Regions from separate parts of the Homo sapiens genome. Here all the other regions are linked to region 3. Evidence: promoter capture Hi-C in 16 types of primary human blood cells and fetal thymus (Javierre and others, 2016). All regions are on one chromosome and are shown on one strand. The core of a region is centred on a gene start or on the middle of the fragment in contact, and the rest is flanking DNA. Distances in the headings are between cores, read along the strand shown. Region 1 holds the start of BACH2 (BACH transcriptional regulator 2). Region 2 holds the start of AKIRIN2 (akirin 2). Region 3 holds the start of PNRC1 (proline rich nuclear receptor coactivator 1).

Evidence for each region. The method cuts DNA at HindIII sites, captures the fragments that hold promoters and counts their contacts. A CHiCAGO score of 5 or more calls a contact.
Region 1: the fragment with the promoter of BACH2 here is called in contact with a fragment that was not itself captured in region 3 in 1 of 17 cell types (fetal thymus); the score reaches 12.7 in fetal thymus.
Region 2: a contact is called between the fragment with the promoter of AKIRIN2 here and a fragment that was not itself captured in region 3, in 1 of 17 cell types (fetal thymus). The highest score is 11.1, in fetal thymus.

What each region holds. Positions count from the first base shown.
Region 1 is chr6:90,295,347-90,298,155 of GRCh38, reverse strand. BACH2 (BACH transcriptional regulator 2) reads left to right here and starts at 1,313. Exons shown (of 9, transcript NM_021813.4): 1 at 1,313-1,676. It overlaps LOC105377891 (a long non-coding RNA gene), which reads right to left and starts at 917. Exons shown (of 7, transcript XR_942778.4): 1 at 420-917. RefSeq lists silencers at 1,400-1,449, 2,075-2,134. The HindIII fragment of the contact is 2,083 bases long and covers 450-2,532 here.
Region 2 is chr6:87,700,664-87,703,852 of GRCh38, reverse strand. It overlaps AKIRIN2 (akirin 2), which reads left to right and starts at 1,620. Exons shown (of 5, transcript NM_018064.4): 1 at 1,620-2,403. The coding sequence starts at 2,169. RefSeq lists enhancers at 1,049-1,358, 1,669-1,728 and silencers at 1,889-2,058, 2,239-2,448. The HindIII fragment of the contact is 11,354 bases long and covers 1-3,189 here.
Region 3 is chr6:89,080,196-89,083,146 of GRCh38, reverse strand. PNRC1 (proline rich nuclear receptor coactivator 1) reads right to left here and starts at 2,396. Exons shown (of 2, transcript NM_006813.3): 1 at 1,713-2,396. The coding sequence starts at 2,252. It overlaps PNRC1-DT (PNRC1 divergent transcript), which reads left to right and starts at 2,567. Exons shown (of 1, transcript NR_187250.1): 1 at 2,567-2,951. RefSeq lists an enhancer at 723-1,683 and silencers at 1,592-1,971, 2,362-2,511, 2,562-2,771. The HindIII fragment of the contact is 1,631 bases long and covers 636-2,266 here.

The DNA.
Region 1 (2,809 bases), core at 64-2,563, 1.2 Mb before region 3:
TCAGCACCTTCAGCTTGCTTTCAGCCATCACTTAGCTTTCCACACAGACATTCCAAATGGGGCCTTTCAAAACTCTGCCCTCAAATGAAGGTAGTTCAGAGCAACACTTTAGATGATATCACAAGACTCCCAGGACGCTTCACTGCTTCCTCAGCATACGCCAGTGCCCGTTTTACAGGGGGGATTTATGATCCTTCTCTCAGTAGAGCGAGCCAAACTTTTATAATATTCATTAAAAATCAGCACCACGTGTAATAATATGGAATACTGCCTGTACACAAGAGGGCCAAGTTATAGGTGTTTAGGGAAACGTGGCAGAATTTTCTGGCCTTGGCAAGAGGTAAAGTTGCAGGCACCAGCACAACACTAACACAACCTTATTTTATTGCAAATGTACATTCAGCCTAAATCCTAATTACCTTCTGTAAAATCCTAACCACCACCAAGCTTTCTTCTGACAGGGCACTCACACGACGGCCTTTAAGGGCAGCAACAACATCCTAAGAGCCGCAGAAAGGAAAGGCAGGGGAGAGTGGCTGGAAGGCAGTAGGAGCTGGGGCTGAAGCCCGGGAGGTTGGCTTTTAATGTCCTCCTGAAATTGACCACTCTCTTTCCAAAAACACTGGCTTGGGGGCTTAAAGGTTCGCTCAGTAGGGCAGGCGGAGGGCCTCCTGAAAAGGATTGAGAAGTCAACATTCAAAAGGCTGCTTTTACTCGCCCGGTCCCCACCCAAAAGGGAGTCCGGTCAGCTTTGTGGGGGCCAGTGGAGCATCTTTTCTTGCCCTTCCGGGAAAACGCTAGCTAACCCTGGGATCCCCGGTCCCGACGTCTGCTCTCCTTCCCCAGGTGCAGCACCTAGGGCTCTGGCCCCCTCCCCACGTGCCACACCAGCCCTCACCACTACTCTCACCCTGCTATGCCCCCAACCCTCGTCTTTCGTGGCCGGGAAGGCCAGGCCGAGCGGGGCGGTCAGCCGGGCCGGGAGGAGGGGGCTCTCCGGGCCGCGCGGCCGCACAAAGCGGGGAGATCTGCTGCTGCGGCGGCATGAGGCGCGCCCCCTCCCGCGAGCCAGCGGAGCGCGCGCGCCCGCCCCCGTCCCCCGCCCCCCGCCCCAGCCCCCGGAGCGCCATTCGCGGAGCGGCTTACGCTAGTCGCCGGGCGTACCGCGCCCCAGCGGCCGGGGAGGTGCGCTGCCCGGCTCCCGTAAAGTTATTGTGAATGGGGAGCGGGTGACGTCAGCGCCGAATGTCAACAATGTAGCGATTGAGAGTGTGGGCGTTCCGGGGAGAGCGCAAGCCGCGCGGCGCGGAGCAAACAGCGCCGAGCCGCCGCCGCCTCAGCAGCAGCAGCAGCAGCAGCAGCGGCAGCAGCGGCCGTGCACGCCCGGGCTGCGGTCGCACAGCGCTAACGTGAGCGGCCGCCGCCCTCGCCACCCCGCCTGCCCACTCCCGCCGCCGCCCCGCTCTCGCTTTCCCCCCGGCCTCCCCTCGCCCCTTCCCCTCCCCCTTCCCGGCGCACTCGGGGGGCTGGGAACGAGCTGCCATGTGATGCGCGTCCCCTCCGCGAGCTTTCGGTGACCCACGAACTGCCCACCTCGCCGGCTGCCGGGAGGGGGCTGCGAGCCGGGAAGACGCGGGGAAGAGGAGGCGGAAAAGGACGCAAAGTTCTCCGGCGAGGTGAGTCCCGGGCCCCGGGCCCCGGGCCCCGCCGCTGGGCGGGGTGGCGGGGCAAGTTTGCGGGGGGAGCGGGCGCGCGGGGCGGGCGGGGAGGCGTGGGGAAACGGCGCGGGAAGGGAGCCCCGGCCGCCGGGCGCGCAGCCGCCCTCCCCGCGCCCTGCCCGCTTTTATGGCATTTTCTAGGAACGGGAAGGGGGTGGGAGCCGAGCCGGCGGCCGCGCCGCGCCGAATGTGTGCTCTCCCTCCCGGCTGTTTACGGCGGCCGAGGCGCATTGTATTTTGCTGGCGTCGAAGGGTGTTTTGGAACAGCAGAGGGAGGAGGAGCAGAGAGTAATAAGTCAGGCATGGGGAGGGCGGGCTGCAGGAGGCGCGCGTCCGCGCGAGCCGCAGCAGCTGTCAGACCCGCGGCCCTGCCCCCGGCCCGGCGAGGCCCGGGTGTCCCGGCCCCCAGCCTGCGATCCCAGCTCCAGGCCGGGCGGCCTCCTCCTTAACCCTCGGCGTGCGCATCCCGGGCTGCTCCGCGAGGACCTTGGCCGCGGCGCCTTTGCGCTCAGCTGTCAGCCGCCGCCGGGTGGCCCGGACCACCGCGACCGGCGGGGAATCAAAGCCCAAGTTTAGGGTCGCAGGAAGAGGCGAGCTGGGGGCCTCGCGGCGCAGACCTGGATCGAATCTCTCCTAGCGAAAGATCGGGTTGTCGGAAAGCGTCCCGCGTAGCTAAGACCTAAGGGCGCCAGGCTTCTGAGAGGGAAACCTTGCACCTCCTCTCCCACAGATCCTCCATGAAGTCAAGGTGCAACACACACACACACACACACACACACACACCCTACACTCCAGTCTCCAAGCCCCAGAAGCTTCACCCAGGAGACTGGTTTATGAAGGGGACACTGCCCTCCCCGTCCCCGCGTCGAGGCGCTCCGTGGCCCCGCTGTGCTTCGCTCACCCGGCGGGTGTTCGGGAGCCCGGCGCCGCTGGAGACGGCGGCGGGCGGCGCTCACGGGCTACCCTAGGTGCCCACGAGGGGAGAGACTGGAGCGAGCATCTCGGCGACCTCGGTCTGGCCAAGCATTTGCAGGAACTCGGACCGTGAGGGGAAGCGTGCAGGGCCGGGAGTGAGTGTGTGAAGGGGTGGC
Region 2 (3,189 bases), core at 371-2,870, 1.4 Mb after region 3:
GAAATCAGTATTTATAATCATTTGACAGTTGGCATTCACAAAATTGTTTCATATTGCACTGGTGATAGTTTCTACATATATCACTTTTTTTTTTTTTTTTTTTTTTTGAGACGAAGTCTAGCTCTGTCACCCAGGCTGGAGTGCAGTAGCTTGATCTTGGCTCACTGCAACCTCCGCCTCCCGGGTTCAAGCGATTCTTCTGCCTCAGCCTCCTGAGTAGCTGGGACTATAGGTGTGCGCCACCACGCCCGGCTAATTTTTTTTATTTTTAGTAGAGACAGGGTATCACCATGTTGAACAGGCTGGTCTCGAACTCCTGACCTCGTGATCCGCCTGCCTCGGCCTCCCAGTGCTGGGATTACAGGCGTTAGCCACCGCGCCCGGCATCATTTTCTTTTCTTTTCATTTTTTTCAGACAGAGACTCGCTCTATCACCCAGGCTGGAGTGCAGTGGCAACATCTCGGCTCACTGCAACCTTCGCCTCCCGGGTTCAAATGATTCTCCTGTCTTAGCCTCCCGAGTAGCTGCGACTACAGGCGCGCGCCACCACGCTCGGCTAATTTTGTATTTTTAGTAGAGACGGGGTTTCACCATTTTGACCAGGCTGGTCTCGAACTCCTGACCTCAGGAAGATCCGCCTGCCTCGGCCTCCCAAAGTGCTGGGATAACAGGCGTGAGTCACCATGCCCGGCTACACAGATCACTTTCTAAATTAGCGCTGTATTTGATTCTTATTTTAGGTATGTGACTAAAAGTACAACTTCTAGAAACACTTTTTTCCCCTTCCGCTTACAAAATGGATCCATCCAATATCTATTACCTAAACATTTCACTGTCTTTTGATTAGTTTTGTAACAAAGTTCACAATATATGCACCAATATTCAACAGAAGTAATGCAATGTCTGATACCACTTGCTTTTTACCCAACGCAAAACAATTTGATTCTGTAAGTCGTTCAAGTCCTATTCATTTACAGAAGCAAAGCTGGCTTTACAGAATTTCATTAGTGGATGAAGCAGCTACCTCCGAAGGGTAGAGCATCGAGTTGAATCAAGGATCCTGTAACCTGATACTATTACTGTTGTTCTGTCTGCCAGTCCTAAATAGGTTTCATAATCTCATTATCTCCTATCCTCTCCATGTGAAAGGTCTTGTTTTGGGTACTGTCGCTACCGAAATTAAGCTAACTTTGACTAGAGATTGGTTTATTATATTTCCCAGATCTGAAATCACTGTGGGAGCAACTATACGGAGAATCTTAAAAGATTTCTATGTCGCTTAGCCTGCTTTTGCCACGGGTTCGCTTTCCCATCTCCCACTGTCTCAGAACCTTCTCTTTTTTTCTCTTTTGCTTAGTTCCTCTTACACTCAAGCTGTGTAGGGGGATTTAAATTCCAACCCGGAACTCGGAATCGCGCGCCTTGCATGACGGAAGTCGTAGTTTCTGTGACTCCTCCCTTCCCGCCTTTCAAGCCGATTCCTCCCGGTACCTAAAAACTACAACTCCCAAAATGCATCCCCGGTTTGGCCCGCCCCCGTGCGCAAGCGCTCTGAGGCCGCCGGATTTGAATCGGCGGCGTTGTTATTGACGCCATATTGGGGCCGGCGGCGGGTGGGAGAGTTCTACGAGGGAGGGGAAGCGGTTGGACGTGTTCGCTTGGGTTCCTGCTGCGGCAGCTACCTCGCAATCTCTCTGCATCGATCGCCGCTCGCAAGCTACTGACCGTACTCGGGCGTATTAGGAGCCGCGTTCCAGCCTCACACCCCACGGTGCTGTTTTCGACTTCAGAAAGGATCTAGTCTCAGCACAGAAGCGCCTCAGGCGCGGCGCAAAGCTCGAGCGGACGGCGGGGGCGGCCGGAGCCTCTCTCGGGGGAGCCGCGCCTGAGGAGGCGGAAGAACCCCCCTGACGCGACTGGCGTGTGCTTCTGCCCGCCACCGCCCCTCCCGCTCTCACCCGGGCCGTCCCTGGCCACTGCCCCTGCCGCGGAGGCAGCGGCGGCAGCGGCTCTCCTTTCCACAGCCGGCGCTCCGCGACCCGCTTGGCTCCTGAGCCCGTCGGGTAGGCTCTCCTCGAGTTCCCGCTCTTCACCCCTTCCCTCACCCTCTTCTTTCGTCACCCGTCCCCGACCCCACCCGAGCCCGGCGCCTCAGCTGCCCCCGGCCATGGCGTGCGGAGCCACTCTGAAAAGGACTCTGGATTTCGACCCGCTGTTGAGCCCGGCGTCCCCGAAGCGCAGGCGATGTGCGCCATTGTCGGCGCCCACCTCGGCCGCTGCCTCCCCGTTGTCGGCGGCCGCGGCCACCGCCGCCTCCTTCTCCGCTGCGGCCGCCTCGCCGCAGAAGTATCTCCGAATGGAGCCATCCCCCTTCGGCGACGTCTCCTCCCGCCTCACCACAGGTGGGACCCGGCCCCGCGGCCGCCGGGGTAGTGGAGAGAACTGGGAACAGGGGTCCTGGGGTGTGGGATGCGGCCCCTGGGGTGGGGGTGCCGGACTGTGTGGTTCTTGTTCTTAGCAAAGTAGTAGGGCAGCCACGTTTTTCACTAGGTCCTCGTAGCCCGAGGACCTAATAAGACACAATAGAAATGGGCTGATGTCAAGGGGATAGTGTTTGGAGGTGGGTAGGGGCTTTGCCTTGCCCGTATTGGGTAGAACAGGGACATCTTTTTCTTTGGGCCGAATGATTGGAATTGTTTCCGTAGTCGCTGGAGCCCCAGCGGAAATGATCAGAGAGGACGATATTATTCGTAAATTTAGGCGAAAGGGTCACATTTCACCCCAATCTGGATGTGTGCTTGCCGTAATCGATTGGTTGCAGCTATTAACTCTGGGACTGGGTGGTTTGAGGCGAGGCTACAGCCCCTCCTTCAGTTCAGACACGGCTGATTTTAGTATAGTGGGGGTGGGGGGTGGGGGATGGATGTCACTAGGGCGAGATCTAGGCCTGTCATTAATCACCCACAAGAACGCCACTTTGGCTGAGTCAAGACCTGTTTCCCTAGCAGGGTCAACAACAAAGAAAATGCTCTTCCCGAGTACTGTAATATGATCACACTATAAGTCTAGACCTTGAGAAATGTTGAACTTTTAATAAGCATATTGCATTGAAAATTGGGGCTGAGGAGTTGCTTTTATTTGGAAATGTTTTATTTTTGCCCAACAAAGTATGCTGGGGGAAAACAACC
Region 3 (2,951 bases), core at 202-2,701:
TAACACGCGCCTCGGGAGGCTGGCTGAGGCGGGATCCCTTCAGCCTGGGAAGGGGAGGATGCAGTGAGCAGAGATCGATCGTGCCACTGCATTCCAGCCTGGAGTGCGATAGAGGCAGACTCTGTCTCAAGAAAAAAAAAACAACAAAAAACTTAAATTTCCCTTGACTTTTAAGTTCACTCTTGTTCGCCACTAAAAATGCAGTTAATCACCACTGCTAGTTACCAGTATGCAACGTGAACCAGTTCTAAAATGTCAAACTAAAAAAAGTCTGAAATAACCCAAGTCCACCTTTCTACAACTGTAAGGAAGACTAATGAGCTCTCTTCCAAATACGAGTGCCAGAAACAATCTTTGCTGTGTACCTCCTTTCTGGTTTAGTAACTGCTTCAAGAACGCTGCTTCACTCACCTTAATCTTTCCCAACTTAAGTGGGCCTTATAGGAAGTCTTGAAAGGATGGAAAAGCGTAAGGTAATCCACTAGATCACTGCACTACCAACACTTGTAACGCGGTAGTAAGCAAGACACGACACGAAAGAGGACCACAACTTTCCACGTCAATAAGGTTCACTGCCAGAGCTCCCTAGTTAGTACCTGTTCTAGAAAACAGGCCAGGAAACAAGCACAAAAGCTTTTAGGTAATCACGGATATTTCAAAAGTCGTGGAATTTTAAAAGGGAGACATTGAGACGATAATTTAAAGAAACAAGGTGGGCAAATTTTTTCCCAAGGGCACAGATAAACCGCAAATCTCTAATTCAATGCAACATTCTTCACTAAATAACGGGAACTTTTTCATTTCATTATTACGAAGATTAAGTCATTGAACTTAAGTCCATAAAACGTTATTCTGACAAGACTTTGAAATCATTTCGTAGACTTAATCCTATTTAAACTTCTATCCATTTTATCCTAATGCAATAGCACTGCAATCAGACGGGCTAAGTCAATTCAATTGCTAACTCTTCTGAAAACTTACTCTGGACACACTAACACGAAGTACCACAGTGGCAAAAGTAATAAAATCAGTTTTGTGCGGCTCCTGCCAACTCTTAACTTGGAACCACTAAGTAGGTCAGGCCCGAGGCGGGCAGAGCCCCAACTGGACTGCGCGTCCCACACCGGGCACCTCACATTTTGGCACAACTCCAACCAAACGAAACCCAGCCGCTCGGAGCCCACTCCACCCCCTACGGCGGGACGTTAGAGGCCGTCTCCGCGTTTCACCGACTAGGACTGGGGCTCCCGATAGCCGGGAGGCCGAAAGCCGGGCCCAGTCCTTCCCCAGCTGCCCCCACCCGGCCTCGCCTCCTTCATGGGCGCCGGAGCGCCGGGCACGTAGCGCGCGCTGACGTCAGCCCTCCCGCGGGCCCTGTCCCTGCCCCCACCCCGCCGCGCGCCCGGAACGCCGAAACCCCCTGGAACGCCGCCAGCCTTCTAAATCGGGGCTGTTGCTGGGGCGCAGCGGCGCTTCTCATTGGCCGACTCCTGGGAGCCAATCAGAAGCGCCAGCGCATGCCTCCCCTTCCCCCTTCTTCCCCCAAAGCAAGAATGGAGCGGGCGTCACGGAAACTTCCCTCCCGAGTAAACAGCCGCCCCCCCCACCCCGCCCCCACCCGCCCGACCCCCCGGGTGCAGGGTCTGCAGCCCCAGAGCTCGGCCGCGACCGTCTAAGGGCCCGACTCCCCAACGGCCCCCTGGCGGCCTCACCTCTTTCCTGAGGGGGGTTTGGCCGGGAGCCGCGGGCCGCAGCGGGGCAAGGTCGGGGCTGGCTCCCTCCGTGCCGGCTGCGGCTGCAGGACTCGGGGCCAAGGCGGCGGCCGGGCCCGGGACCTCCTGCGCTCCGCTCGGGCCGGTCGCGGGGCTCCGGCCGCCCTCCAGACTCGGCCGGTGCTGCTGGTACTGGTGGAAGCGGCTGGGCAGCTGCCCTGCGGGGCTGGCCCGCACCTTCTTCTTTCGCCGCTTCTTCGGCGCTGCCCGAGGAGTGCCTCCCGCCACGGCGAGGCTGCGGTTGGGCAGAGCTGCTGGAGCGCGAGGCTGGGGGGTCAGACACGGGCCATCTCCCCCTAGGAAATGAGGGAGGAAGAGGGTCGGGGGCAGTGCCCGGGGGTCCGGGATCCGGGGTAAAGGAGGCGGAGCCGTGGTCACCATCGGGAGGGCCCCAAAGTAACCTCGGGAGGAAAAGCCAAGCGGCGCAAGGCGGCCACCCAGGACGAGCGGCTCCCGCTGCGGGACGGAGACGACAGTCATAGCGCTAGGAAGCTTGTCGCTCAGCAACGAAGAGAGAAGGAGAAGGTGAATGAAGCCAGTGAAGATAGGGTGGCGGCGATGGATGCTGCTAGGAGAGCCTGAGAAGATCGCGGAACATGACTCGGGCGGTGGCGGCGCAGCAACAAATAGCCACAGCCCCAGCTCCGAGTGTTGTTATCGGAAGCTCCGCCCCGCGCCCGCCCACTTTCCTGCGAAAGCCCAATTAGAGTGCGACAAGGCAGGCCACGCCCCCTCGCTCCGCCTCCGCAGCTTCGGGTAGACACACACAAACAACCAGCTTGCTGCAGCCTGGCACAAAGAGGGCGCACTGCGCAGGCGCTGCCAGCGAGCTCTTTTGGGAAGAATCGGTCCCGCGAACAATGAAATTGGGTTTCCGCCCCACCCTCTTTACTCCTCCCCAGCACGCCCCTGCGCTTCGCCGGGCTAGGGAGTGGTGGTACTGAAATGTCCCGGCGGAGTTTGTTGATGGGGGTGGGGAAGGGAGGGGGCAGGGGGAGGGCGGCAGGAAGAACGGGGGCTGGGAAGAGGGGATGACTTTGGCAAGGCCACGGTTGCCTCCTCCGCTGCTGACCTTGGGGAAGTATCCGTTTTATTTTCAGCCCAACATAACAGCGTTATCATTTTAAAACAAAGATTTCTAAGTACGCTGTAAGGATTTCTTCCCTAGCAATCGTGAAG